2 separate regions of the Homo sapiens genome follow, and region 1 is linked to region 2. Evidence: promoter capture Hi-C in human tissues and cell types (Jung and others, 2019). All regions are on one chromosome and are shown on one strand. Each heading gives the region's core, a stretch centred on a gene start or on the middle of the fragment in contact. The rest is flanking DNA. Distances are from core to core; before and after follow the strand shown.

Evidence for each region. Contacts are between HindIII fragments. The study calls those that stand out against the background at their distance.
Region 1: a fragment that was not itself captured here is called in contact with the fragment with the promoter of VWA3B in region 2 in 1 of the 25 tissues and cell types used here (pancreas).

Annotation. Positions count from the first base shown.
Region 1 is chr2:98,045,859-98,052,954 of GRCh38, reverse strand. It overlaps LOC105373501 (a long non-coding RNA gene), which reads left to right and starts at 556. Exons shown (of 3, transcript XR_923092.3): 1 at 556-665; 2 at 3,963-4,204. RefSeq lists enhancers at 4,645-5,145, 5,146-5,646. The HindIII fragment of the contact is 3,926 bases long and covers 1-3,828 here.
Region 2 is chr2:98,082,353-98,088,956 of GRCh38, reverse strand. VWA3B (von Willebrand factor A domain containing 3B) reads right to left here and starts at 1,790. Exons shown (of 28, transcript NM_144992.5): 1 at 1,594-1,790. RefSeq lists enhancers at 1,061-1,561, 1,596-1,665, 1,562-2,062. The HindIII fragment of the contact is 7,495 bases long and covers 1-6,604 here.

The sequences.
Region 1 (7,096 bases), core at 616-3,115, 36 kb after region 2:
AGCTGATTGTAATGTGCCCAGAATTAGAATACTGATCCAGATTTTTGCATTACCCATCTCTCTTGTTTCTTCTGAGCAGCAGTTAGACATCAGTGGTTGGTTCACAGGAATATGCAGTGTTAGACTAAATTGCAGAAACAAACTTAAAAACAACTGATAAGACTAGAATCTAATACAAAGTATACCAGTTTTTGAAATGTAATATTTCTCTCTCCAGTTTCCTATTTTTACTAAAGACAAATCATGGTAAGACCGATTTGCTTTATTATACTTGGCCTGATTATTTGTACAGCAAGAATAATTATTTTTCACATAAGCTCATTTTAAATTGGCTTTGAACTCTATTCCATAGAAGGAATTTCAGATAAGACTTCTTTTTTTTAAATTGAGACAGAGTCTCGCTCTGTCGCCCAGACTGGAGTGCAGTGGTGCTATCTCGGCTCACCAGAACCTCCACCTCCTGGGTTCAAGTGATTCTCCTGTTTCAGCCTCCCGGGTTGCTGGGATTACAGGCCCTGCCACCATGCCCAGCTAATTTTTTTTCTATGCTTTTAGTAGAGACAGCGTTTCACCATATTGGCCAGGCTGGTCTCAAATTCCTGACTTCCAGTGATGTGCCCACCTCGGCCTCCCAAACTGCTGGGATCCACTTTGCTCTGCCTCAGGTAAGACTATTTTACAGCCGAGCCCAGCCATGGGTTTGCACCCTCAAATACCTGAGTTGGGTAAATTTTTTTCCTCTCGAGGTCACAAGATAACTTGGGGCTCCATGACCTGTCAGAAAGTGACATTCTTTACTCACCACAGGTTAGAAATTCTGCACAGAGACTGTTTTAGGCAAGGTATGAGGCCAGTCCCCCAGGGGGCTTTTATTGGCTCTATATGTTAGGTTTAATACCCTAAAGGAAAACATGCTGTTCCAGTCAAAGCCTTAGCAAAATAACCAATGTCTCCCGTTGTGTCCTGTTACAAAAGAAAACGGATTTTTATTGCACCTATGCAAATAACTATATTGCCATAAGTTAAGAATACTTACAAACAGTTTCCAAATTTTAGAGAAATTAAATACAAAGAAATAAAAATAAATATGCTCCAAATTCTGTTCATAGGAGTACACTCAACTGTTAAAAGCTGTAAATAGCTCAAAAGAAAAGTTTCCTTGACTCTGAAAAACAAAACAAAGGATCAGCAATGTTTTAAGCAAAGTTAAAAAGATTAGACTTCTTCAGTTTAGTCCATATAGTTAACTTCTGTTTGATAGTTATGAATATTTCAGTTCTCCATTAGAGTTCTGAAAGTTTTTTCCTTTATTCTGATGACACAATCTCCAAAGTTATCAGAAAACCTGCATTTAAGAACACCTATTAGAGTTCTATAATTGATTATAAATCACCTTTTAAAGAGGATTAAAACGAGGTAACGATTGGGCCAGGCACAGTGGCTCACACCTGTTATCCCAGCACTTTGGGAGGCCGAGGCAGTTGGATCACCTGAGGTCAGGAGTTCAAGACCAGCCTGACCACCATGGCGAAACCTCATCTCTACTAAAAATACAAAAACTAGCTGAGCATGGTGGTGGGCACCTGTAATCCCAGCTACTCAGGAGGCTGAGGCAGGAGAATCACTTGAAACCAGGAAGCAGAGGTTGCAGTAAGCTGAGATTGCGCCATTGCGCTCCAGCCTGGGCAACAAGAGAGAAACTTTGTCTCAAAAAGAAAAAAAACCAGGTAACAATTGTCTATGGCTGACAAAATGTTTTAGGGGAGCCACGATCAAAGAAACAATTGACAAGGAAATTTGTTACCTCCATGGCATACAATGATTTTATGTAACGATTATCATTATTACTGATAATGTACACTAAGTCATATCAGAATTATAAGAGTTTCCCATGATTTTGGAATATATATACCAATAACATATTTATACAAATATGGCCCAAAGAAAACCAAACACCATTTTATATTTGACAATGCTCCCTGTATGATTTTTGTACCAAATAAGCCAAATGTCACTGTTGCATTAGTGCATTATCAATGTCAAACCCAATTCTTAATAAAACCTTATAAATATATCGATCCAATCTTAATCAGTTTGACCATAAGGTAAGATTCTTATAAACCTTTTATAACCCTTTACAAGTTTTTGTTAAATAGCAGATCATAAGCAGGTTTTTGCTCTAAGAAAAATCTGTTGTGCTTTTATTCCAATTTTTAATTTATAGAAAAACTGAATAATACTCCTTTAATTTAGCCAATGTCCACACACAGAATCTCTTTTACAATTAATTTTCTACAAACCCTCCACAATTGTTCAAACCTTTATTCTAACTTAAAACAATTCTTTAACCCCTTAGGCAAAAAAAATGCACATTCCCATGCCTTCTTGTAATCTTTCGCCAAAAACACATTTTACTTTCTTTACACACCTTGCATGTAAAATTTTTTTTAGTAGTTTTAGTTACATATTATAACGTTAACTTTTAGCAACTTTTATTTTTGGTGAAAAACTTGGTAAGTTCGGGATTTTAATTATATACAAGGTGTGGCGCCTAGCCTAGGACACACCAGACAGAAGTGTAGATAAGAGCTGACTCTCCAGCATAGCTAGGTTGCATGACTAACTCCACATGTCCCCAGGCCTTACCTAGCTATAAAGCAGGCAAGTTGTACAGCAAGAGTCATAGTGGCATTTTATGAAGCATTTACAAGGCTTAACAACCTTTGAATTGTATGACATTTCTTGCATAAATTCCCTTTCACAAATCCTTTCATGACTTACACAGACCATCTGAGATATTATTGGACTTTCTGACCTGCCCTAAACATCCCTCCTGTTAGACAACCAGTCATTTTACTTTAGGACAAGAATTTCCCATACAAGATCCTTTCTTACATAAAATCCCTTTCTTAATAATCTTCTTTGTATAGCAAAGGGGCATGGCTAATTCCACATGTCCCCAGGCCTTATCTAGAACCTCATGGCTTTAAGGTAGGTAAATTGAACAATTTTGGAAAAGTTAAAGCAGCAGTTTATGACCTTAAAGCCTTTAGCAAACTTAATATCTGACCTGCATAATTTAGACTAAATGTTTTTATTTTAACAATAATTTTAAAAGCTGTTTTTCCCAAAGATTACTAAAGTTATATGAACTAAAAGGCATTACAGTTTCTATTTTGCTTTTAAAATATTTGATGTAAGTGCTTATTTTTGTTTCAGCCAATTAATTAGAGCTCTTATATATAAACATTACACACAACACATATGTAGCTACAAGAAAGACAGAAGATTATACTACAGTAGTTGTAAAATTTTTCATTTGCCAGTTTTTAAGTTTCTTCATTGGATTACTGGCTTTAGGATGGAGCCCCCGGAAGAACAGGGCCAGGAAAGTGGTCTCTGTTTCCTCCTGTTTTTCCCAAGGAGTCTAGGCTGTTAGAGTTTAACTATCCGCTTTTAATAGTACTGATTTTAACCATAGCACTCTTTAATAAAGTCCTTTTAGAATTTCTTATGCCAAACGGCCGATATTTCTGACTTTTGAACTTTACCAAAGGTAACCTCCCAGGTGCTTAGAGAAAGGAAAATTTAAGACAGTCCACAGAGGAGAAGAGAATAGACAAGGTCATGCAGGTATTAAACCAGAAACGACTTACTTCCTAGGTGGGGAATTGAACCTGGACCGCTACTGTGAAAGCGCAAAACCTTAGCAACAGAGGTGCAGCATGGGACAGCCTCTGTTTCCTTCCCCAGACGGAGTCTAGAGTAGTTAATTTTGAGCTTGTAAAGGCTTTTAACTTTTTAATATGATTTTTAGCACTAACTATGACATGAACCCTAAAATTTCTGTTCCCTGGAAGGCAGAGACCAAGAGAAAGTACCGCCATGTGGTTAAAAGGTCAAGCTCCCAAGGACATAAAATAAGGTGGAAACTTCATCCAGTTGTTTTTTGTTTGTTTCAGGGACCTGCAGCCAAGTTCGTTACGGACCAGCTTGCTGAGTTGTCTTGAAAAGCGGGCTTACAGGTGTTCTAAGCCCATGTTTTATCCTGAAGTTCCCCTCGACAAGAAAAACGAATTCATAGCACAAAGTACACCAGTTTAAGACTAGCCTTAGAATTCTTTTTTGCATTAATCCAAACAGAAGAGATTTGTTTTACCATTCCTTCAATCGTTCCCACAGAGAGAAGTCAGAAATCTGACTGGTAAGAAATTTTTACCCTTTTGCCGGCATGCCAATCTTCTGGGTTCTCTTTCTCTGAGCAGTCCTAGTGATCCAGCTTGTGGCACCATCACCCTGGGGCCAAGCCACATTATAAAGGAATTTTTTTTTTTCATTCTGGCCAGAGCAAAATACATGTGATAAAACACAGACATTAGCCACTCTGCTTAGCACCCAATATCAAACTGGCAAGGCTTAAATTTTCCCCCAGATGAGTCCCATCATCTTTAATCCAACCTCCGACTTGGAGTATCAACATATGGTCTCTGGGCAAGATGGTCACCCTGAGTGACAGAAAATATAGGAAAGGAAAAGTAGAGAAGGAAAGTATTACCTGTGGTAGGGTGGGGAAGGTGAAGAGCTCAGGGAAGCCAGAGAAAACGCCCACTCATTGCAGCCGACAATGAAAAGTTCAAGGCCGGGTGTGGTGGCTCGAACCTGTAATCCTAGTACTTTGGGAGGCCGAGGCGGGTGGATCACCTGAGGTCGGGAGTTGAAGACCAGCCTGACCAACAGGGAGAAACCCTGTCTCCACTAAAAATACACAATTAGCCTAGCGTGGTGGCGCATTGCTGTAATCCCAGCTACTCAGGAGGCTGAGGCAGGAGAATTGCTTGAACCTGGGAGGCGGAGGTTGTGGTGAGACGAGATCGTGCCATTGCACTCCAGCCTGGGAAACAAGAGCAAAACTCCATCTCAAAAAACAAGAAAGGAAGGAAGGAAGGAAGAAAGAAAAGGAAAGGAAAGGAAAGGAAAAAGGAAAGGAAAGGAAAAGACAGGACAGGACAGGAAAGGAAAGGAAAAGAAAGGAAAGGAAAGGAAAAGACAGGACAGGACAGGAAAGGAAAGGAAAAGAAAGGAAAGGAAAGGAAAGGAAAGGAAAGGAAAGGAAAGGAAAAGACAGGACAGGACAGGAAAGGAAAGGAAAAGAAAGGAAAGGAAAGGAAAGGAAAGGAAAGGAAAGGCAAGGCAAGGCAAGGCAAGGCAAGGCGCGGTGGCTCACGCCTGTAATCCCAGCACTTTGGGAGGCTAAGGCGGGAGGATCACCTGAGGTCAGGAGTTCGAGACCAGCCTCAACATGGAAAAACCCCGTCTCTACTAAAAATACAAAATTACCTGGGCGTGGTGGTGCATGCCTGTAACCCCAGCTACTTGGGAGGCTGAGGCAGGAGAATTGCTTGAACCTGGGAGGCGGAGGTTGTGGTGAGCCGAGATCGCGCCATTGTACTCCAGCCTGGGCAACAAGAATGAAACTCCGTCTCAAAAAAACAGAAGAAAAGAAAAGCTCAGGTGGCCGCTTTTCAGTAGCAAAGGGATCTTTTCCAGCAGTCCCATCAGCTCTTAAGTTTCCCCTTTTAGGGAGGAAAAAGCTCCGCATGTCCCATGATCCTGTACATGCCTAACCCTGTCACCCACAGCCATCAGCAAAGAGTGCAAGGCAGATTAATCCAAAGAGAATAGCAGTTAACATCCCGTAGTGCCAAACCTGCTTTTAGCCGAGAAGGACTTATACTGAGAGGGGCCTCTAACTTCCTAAATCTTAGAAGGGACTCTAACCCTCCTAAGTTGGGCCTCTAACCCAAGGTCGGTCAAGCGTCCTTGCCTTTTATTAAGAGGGACCTCTAACCCACTCTGTTTTAGGAGAGACTGTAACTTCCCTAGCTGGGTCTGTAACCCAATCCCATTCTTTATCCAGGTACTCCGCCACTCACCCAAAGTTGTCCAATCACTTTACCTTTATCCAGGTACCCCACCAATTACCCAAAGTTGTCCAATCAGTGCTGCAGTCTATTTCCTTTGGGTTGCGGGGGGCGTTCCTCAGTATTGTCCCTTTTGTGGCTCACAAGAAAAATGTTACTGAACCCCACCATTTACCCAAAGCCAGCATTTGGGTCAGGGGTTTCTGCAGTAAAGTCACTACCGTGGTTGCCACAAATATGTTACAGGACTCCAACACTTACCCAAAGGTAGCTGTTGGGTCAGGGTTTCTGCACTACAAGTCTCTTCTGTGGTCACCAGAAATATGTTACAGGAAAGCAGTCCCGATCCAGACCCCAAGAGAGGGTTCTTGGATCTCACCCAAGAAAGAATTCAGGGTGAGTCCATAGAGTAAAGTGAAAGCAAGTTTATTAAGAAAGTAAAGGAATAAAAGAATGGCTACTCCATGGACAGAGCAGCCCCAAGGGCTGCTGGTTGCCCATTTTTTTGGTTATTTCTTGATGATATGCTAAACAAAGGGTGGATTATTCATGCCTCCCCTTATTAGACCATACAGGGTAACTTCCTGATGTTGCCATGGCATTTGTATACTGTCATGGTGCTGGTGGGAGTGTAGCAGTGAGGACGACCAGAGGTCACTCTCATCACCATCTTGGTTTTGGTGGGATTTGGCTGGCTTCTTTACTGCAACCTGTTTTATCAGCAAGGTCTTTGTGACCTGTATCTTGTGCTGACCTCCTATCTCTTCCTGTGACTTAGAATGCCTTAACTGTCTGGGAATGCAGCCCAGTAGGTTTCAGCCTCATTTTACCCAGCTCCTATTTCAGATGGAGTTGCTCTGGTTCACACGCCTCTGACACCCTCAAATGATATTGAAGTCCTAACCCCAGTATCTCAGAATTTTACCTTATTGGGAAATAGTGTTGTTGCAGATACAATTAATTAAGTTAAGACAGCCCTGGAATAGAGTCCCTAATTCAATATGACGTGATGTCCTTATATAAAAGGGAAATTTGGAGACAGACATGTACACAGGGAGAATGCCATGGGAAGACTGGAGTTATCCCGCCACCAGCCAAGGCCCTACCAGAAGGTAGGAGAGAGTCCTGGAACAGAGCCCTTCCTAATGCCTTCAGAGTGGTGGCCCTCCTAAAGC
Region 2 (6,604 bases), core at 541-3,040:
CATGGTGAAACCTCGTCTCTACTAAAAATACAAAAATTAGCCGGGCATGGTAACACACACGTGTAATCCCAGCTACTAGGGAGGCTGAGGCAGGAGAATTGCTTGAACCCAGGGGGCAGAGGTTGCAGTAAGCCAAGATTGCACCACTGCACTCCAGCCTGGGGGACAGAGCGAGACCCTGTCTCAAAAAAAAATAAAGGGGGATATATTATTTTCTGATAAAACTATGCTATTTATTTATTTATTTACTATTATTCAGAGTTTCCTCAGCTGAGGTTATTATAAATTGGGGAACCAAGTAACCCAGAAGTCGGAAACAACAACATACCGGAGTTGAGCATTGCCCTAAGTTTTAGAGGCCATCCCAAGAACCATACATAGAGTTTGGATAGGAAAGTATTTCCTTAGAAGAAGGAGGAAGTGTAAAAGGAAAAACAAGGAAGTGAAAGTCTGAGCTGAAAATGTGGGCAGGCAAAGCTTTGGGGAAAATAGAAAGGTTAAGCTGGCAACTGTACAAGGGCCCCGTCTACTGGAAGCAGATGCTCCTGGGCTGCCCTGGGCGACAGTCTTGTGAAGTCAGCATGCCCTCAGAGAAAAGGTCCTATGTGCTCGGAGGTTCAGGGACAGTGCAGGGTTGAGAGTCCATTAATCCAGTTTAGACATTCAATAAGCTTCTAGCTACTTTATTATCAACACCCCAAACTTCCTATACCCCTGTTAGTTTCTGAAAAAGAAGTCTGGGCTAGGTGGATATATATCTTGTGATTTAGGTGAATTTGTGAACGATGATTTTTCCAGGAAGAAAGGAAACTGGGACGAAGCTTCATGATGGATCCTGATGCAACTCTTCCCCAGAAACCCTTAAACCTCCTCCCATTTTTTCTGCCCTTAAGGGACAAGGCTTGGCTGTGATCATTGGCTCAAATAATGTGGACAGAGACAAGGATATTGAAACGGACTGTCCCACCGTTGAGAAAATAGTCAAGAAGGCAATATCTGAGAATAATTGGAGTGCTTTAGGAGGAAGGTCATTGCTGAGAAGAAACAGAGCTTCCAAGAAAATGAAAGGAAAAGCTCTACCAAATGGAAACTAAATCTACTTATTAAGTCTTATTTCCATATAAGGAGGGTGAAAGAAACTGATATGATTGTGAAACCATGTAAGTGTTGCTTTGGCTTTTAGACTATACATATTTATCCTTATGTTCAGGAAATGTGTTTCTTCTGGTTCCCATGTTCCCTCCAAAGCCCAGGTGGACTTCATCACCTTGAACTGCTGGCCTATGGCATAGACAGAAACTAGGAAAACCGCTTTTCCACCAGAGCGGCTGGGCGTGGGCTCGGGTGAGGTGTGATGGAAAGAGCTCTAGAGTAGGAGGGGTCGGTACCTTGACCCTCGGCTTGCCCTGGGTAGCGGACGATTAAGTGGGCCAGGGCAAGTCACCGAGCTTTCCTGGTACTGTTTCCGCATCTGTAAAGTGGGCGTGTAGTCCACCTCAGAAATGGCATTTTTCCAAGACCTCCCTAGGCCGCTTGTTGGAAGGCTCGGCACCTCGGCGGCTCTCGTGCGGCAGGCATCGCTCCCACACTTACTAGGCAATATGTCGGGTGGAAGACGTGGCGGCTCCCGCTCAGCAGCCACCCTCCCATCCTCCCGGGCCCGCCTGACCCGAGAGGGCGGGCGAGGTAAGCATCCCGCTGGTGGATAAGGCAGCGATTCCGGCGGGCGAAGGCTGCGCGCCGGGGGCGAAGGATTCCAGCTGTTCTAGGTCTCTGTGACCCGCGCCTCTGGTTCCGAGCGCGGTCTGTTGACGACGGCGTCTCCGCGGTTGCCTGGACACGGCCAATCACAGCGCGGCTCCTGGAGCCGGCCCCGCCCACAGACCGCGCCCTCACTGGGGCGATGGCTGCGGACCGTGGCCAAGAGGGCGGGGCGCCGAGGCCGTCACCGAGCCAGGTGCGGAAAGCCGGCGTCCGGAACCACCCGGGCCGGGACGACCTCCACCCCAGACCCCCAAACAGAGGCCACGCTAGAGGGACAGGGCGAGTGGCGTTGCCCCTTGCGCCTACTGTCAATGGGAAAATTAACAACAGCGGAGAATATGAATGAAAGAATGAATGAATTAACAAACAAATACACTGATGAGCTGGGGTAGAAATATAGGGTGCGAGCAGACAGGGGAGGAAGGCGCCAGAGGCCGAGGAGAGGCGAGGAGACTGCGGGAAACGCTACAAACGAACTTCTTTTCATACTTTTCAGCAGAGCATTGACCCCTGTGTAGTTTTAATTTTCACCTCACCACTGTCAGGCGATGCTCTCTTCCTTGCACAGTTCAGAGAAAGACGCTTTAAAAGAGGTGGGGCAGTTCGTTGTAGCTCAGCCACTGGACGTGGGCGGAGCTGAGACAGACAGAAGGGACAGGGAGCTGCAATTTTGCAATTGTGGAGGCAGGGGCTGCAGTTGCCAAGAATATTCTTACCTGTTTGACATGAATATTTCTATAGGCATTATTTTCTCCATTCAGCTTTGTTTTTAACCTTTGTTTCAGTGTTACCTTATCAATTAAGCAAAAGGCTCTAAATATTTTCCTATTTTTCCAGTCACCAGGAAATAAAATTGTGCTTATGAAAAGTATCTTTAAAGTCTTAATAAAAGACCCCACAGTAAGTATTGTTTTTAGGGTATTGGGATAGTAAACGATTTTAGATTTTAAAATTATAGAACTGACCAGATCATTTGCAGGTTTTTCAAAGAACTAATAAAACATAGTTAATGTTAGAACTGAGTAATTCTGTCCCCCCAAAAAAAGTCTGCTTCATCCACAGGAATTTATTTCTCCTGCATTCTTTTAATGCCTCTATCATTTAAAAAGTACTGAAAGATTTCATTCCATATCACAAATCATTCCTGGCAGTTATTAGTTTATATATATTTGGCCCTGCAAATGAAACCTGCCATCCACACCACCAAAAAACAAGCAAAAGCTTGATAGTACTGAAGACTGTTCAGAAGGGAGTAAAACACCAGCCTCGCCCATGTTTGCCAATGACCCATTAATCCTTGCTGTCCACACCCTGCCACACTAATATTCTTGGGTCACGGGGGTGAGACAGAGCACACAGCAACACATAGCCAAATGCCCTGCCTCACATGGTCACGCCAGGCACTCTTGTTCCCACCTTCACCCCATGCCTGCTCCTTTCCCTAGGACACTTGCCACATACGTGCAAGTCACCAAGATGATCTGTCCCTATCTTTCGTGTTTATGTGTCTATAAGCATACATTCTGTTGAAAATGTGAAACATTACTTACTTAAATTGTAGAATGATAAGTGAGTAGAAGTTTAAGGTTATTTTGAAGCATTAAATAGTTGGTATGGACTTCAGTTTAGCTAGTTACAGAATGGTTTGCCTCATTTTTATTGAGTTATTTGAAATAAGAAAACCTTTAGCACAGTGGTGATACACTACTATACTGAACTTTTGACAAATTTGTTTTGAGTTTACATTTTTACAGATAATTTGTATCTTTCCTTAAACCTCAGTAAGCGACATTGATCAAATCACTGCCATCTTTGATGTCAAACTTCTGGACTTTACCATTAAGGGCTCAAATTATACTTTCAGACTTTTGCTCATTGCCTCCAACACAAACCCCCATCCCAGAGAGACCCACCTGGTCCCTGCCTCTGAGCACAGATGACTTTACTCAGGCCACCCAGATTACCACAGTTTGGGAATCACCGTCCCTTCAGGGTCAGCTCTAGCTCTTCTCTCTCTCCCCAAAGCCCTCCCATGGATGCTGCGGCCCTAATAACTTCTCTCTACCTGTACAGTCTCAAAGCATTGCTTGCCAGTACCACACTCTTGGCAACCATGTACAAGCCTTTGACAAGCCTTTCGTTGTTATTTGACCTTTGTGCTGTTTACTTTTCAGGTTCAATGGGTTTTCCTTTTCTTTATACAAGTCTATCACTGCCACTGCTTGGGCTTATGGCCATGATCAGAATGTTTGGTGGAGGAGGGAGGGTGATAAAGGAAATGAAGGGAGGAAAAGCATTTTCCTAAGCCCACTGCAAAAACTGGAACCAGAGGAGACGGAGAATGTTAACTCCTTGTATATATGTGTGAGAAAGAACCTGAGCTGGAATTAAAACAGAGGCACTCCCTCTGAAGAGGAAGGAGAAACTGAGAGAGTGAGGCAGTTCCTGCTGAACCTTTGTTAGCTCTTGTGGTGAAGGGAGTTTTCGCCATCAGGGGCAGCCTTGGGAGAGGTAGGTGGGGACAGGGGCCATCACGGGGAGGTAGAGCTCAAACAGAGGTTTCTCTATGCTGTGATGTTCTTGAGTTCAGCATTCATTATTTGGGACAATGAATGTAGACTCCTGGCTCTCAATCTAACATCTTTGATGAGGGTCAGAGCTTTTTTACTACCCTTGGCAAAGACTACGTTCACTTTTACCAGACTGAATTAACACTTAATCATAGCTAGAATGTATTGAATGTCAGACCATGTTCTAACCTCTTTAAATATATTACATCATTTAATACTTAGAAAAGCTCTTTGAGGGAGACATCATAATTATGTCCATTTTCTAGATAAGTAAACTGAGACAGAATATTAAGCTATTTCTCCAAGGCCACTCAATGGTGGTTCCGGAATTTGAACCCAGGCAGCCTGACTCCACACCCTGCCCTGTTAATTATATGCTGTGTTGATCAACTGTTGGCTTCAATTTTCTCCAAGAGGAAATTTCTGTCATCTCAGTCATACAGTGTTCATTTAGTGCTTGATACTAATGGCACAGAGAAACCTCCCTGGATTTAAATGTGTTTTTAACAAGACATATTCCCATTTTAAATGGCATAAAGCAGGTCTGTTTTTAAATTACCCTCCCCGGCCAGGCACCGTGGCTCACGCCTGTAACCCTAACACTTTGGGAGGCCAAGGTGGGCAGATCACCTGAGGTCAGGAGTTCAAGAACAGCCTGGCCAACATGGTGAAATCCTGTCTCTACAAAAATACAAAAATTAGCTGGGCATGATGGCGGGTGCCTGTAATCCCAGCCACTTGGAAGGCTGAGGCGGGAGAATCACTTGAACCTGGGAGGCAGAGGTTGCAGTGAGCCGAGATTGTGCCATTGCACTCCAGCCTGGGCAACAGAGTGACACTCCGTCTCAAAAAAAAAAAAAAAAAAATTACCCTTCCCCCCTACACTTCTTGTTAACCAATTCCTTTGTAATGTGGCATTATTTTAAAAGCTGGATGCCTTGTAGGGTACTAACATATCCCCACAGCAAATTAAGAAAAACTGAACAAAAATATTTTATATAAACAAAAACTCTCAAATATTTGGAAATTTCAAATCACTCTTCAAAATAGTTACTGATACTAAAACCTAGCAAAGACAATACTCTTAGAATGAGATTTTGATCTTACAGGAATGATATTCAGGAATGGACTCAGTCTTGCCTTGGTGTGGTCATCATCTTTCTGCAGTTCCTGAAGATGAGCAGCACGATAGACAATGGCAGAAGGAGATAAGGAATTTCCTTACTTTAAGTGCCTCTAACTCTAGTGCGGGGTGACCTGGCTATGTGGGCACAGGAGTTGGGCACTAAGCTGGAGCCTTTCTCCCTTCTACACTCAGATCTTTCCACCAGCTCCTTGCCAAGATTGGGAGGGTGAATGAGCAACACTGCTTACGAGGGAGGAAGAGAGATGACAGGTTCTGTCCATAATAAGAGATCAGCTCCAGTTTGTTTGTCCTCCTTTCTCCCTGGAGAAAGAGCAAAGTACCAAAGGGAGAGCCACACAAGGGTTTGTAGCTCATAAACTTGGCACCATCAACATCCTGGAATCTCATCCAATTATGTCAGTGTTCCCCCCTCTTGAGGAGTGAAGAAGAGAGAGGAAAGCAAGAAAGAGTTTAACATTAAAAGAATTAGGGCTGGGCACGGTGGCTCACACCTGTAATCCCAGCACTTTGGGAGGCCGAGGTAGGCGGATCATGAGGTCAGGAGTTCGAGGCTAGCCTGACTAACATGGTGAAACCCGTCTCTACTAAAAATACAAAAAATTAGCGGGGCTTTGTGCAGGCACCTGTAATCCCAGCTACTTGGGAGGCTGAGGCAGGAGAATCACTTGAACCTGAGAGACGGAGGTTGCAGTGAGCCAAGATCATGCCACTGCACTCCATCCTGGGCAACAGAGCGACATCTGCCTCAAAAAAAAAAAAAAAAAAAAAAACTTAGAACATTCTCACTGATTAATATAATTGTAAAAATGCTGGGTAAAAATTCCAACAAATTGAATTCAATGAAATATGTTTAAAAGAATGATTTTTTTTTAATTTGTAAAAATAGATACCTTTCTGCCAAACAATTTCATTTCTAGGTTTCCTAGAAAACACACAGAAGTGTTTTTATCATTGCAAAATAATGGAAAGCATCTAAATGTCCAACAAGAAGGGAGTCATTGAAATTATGCTATATTCTTATTGTGATATGATAACAGTTTAAAATAAAAAGATAAACTTATGTATAATAATATAGAAATGTCTCCAAGGTTAAGTATTTCCTTAAAATAAAGTTGCAGAGTGT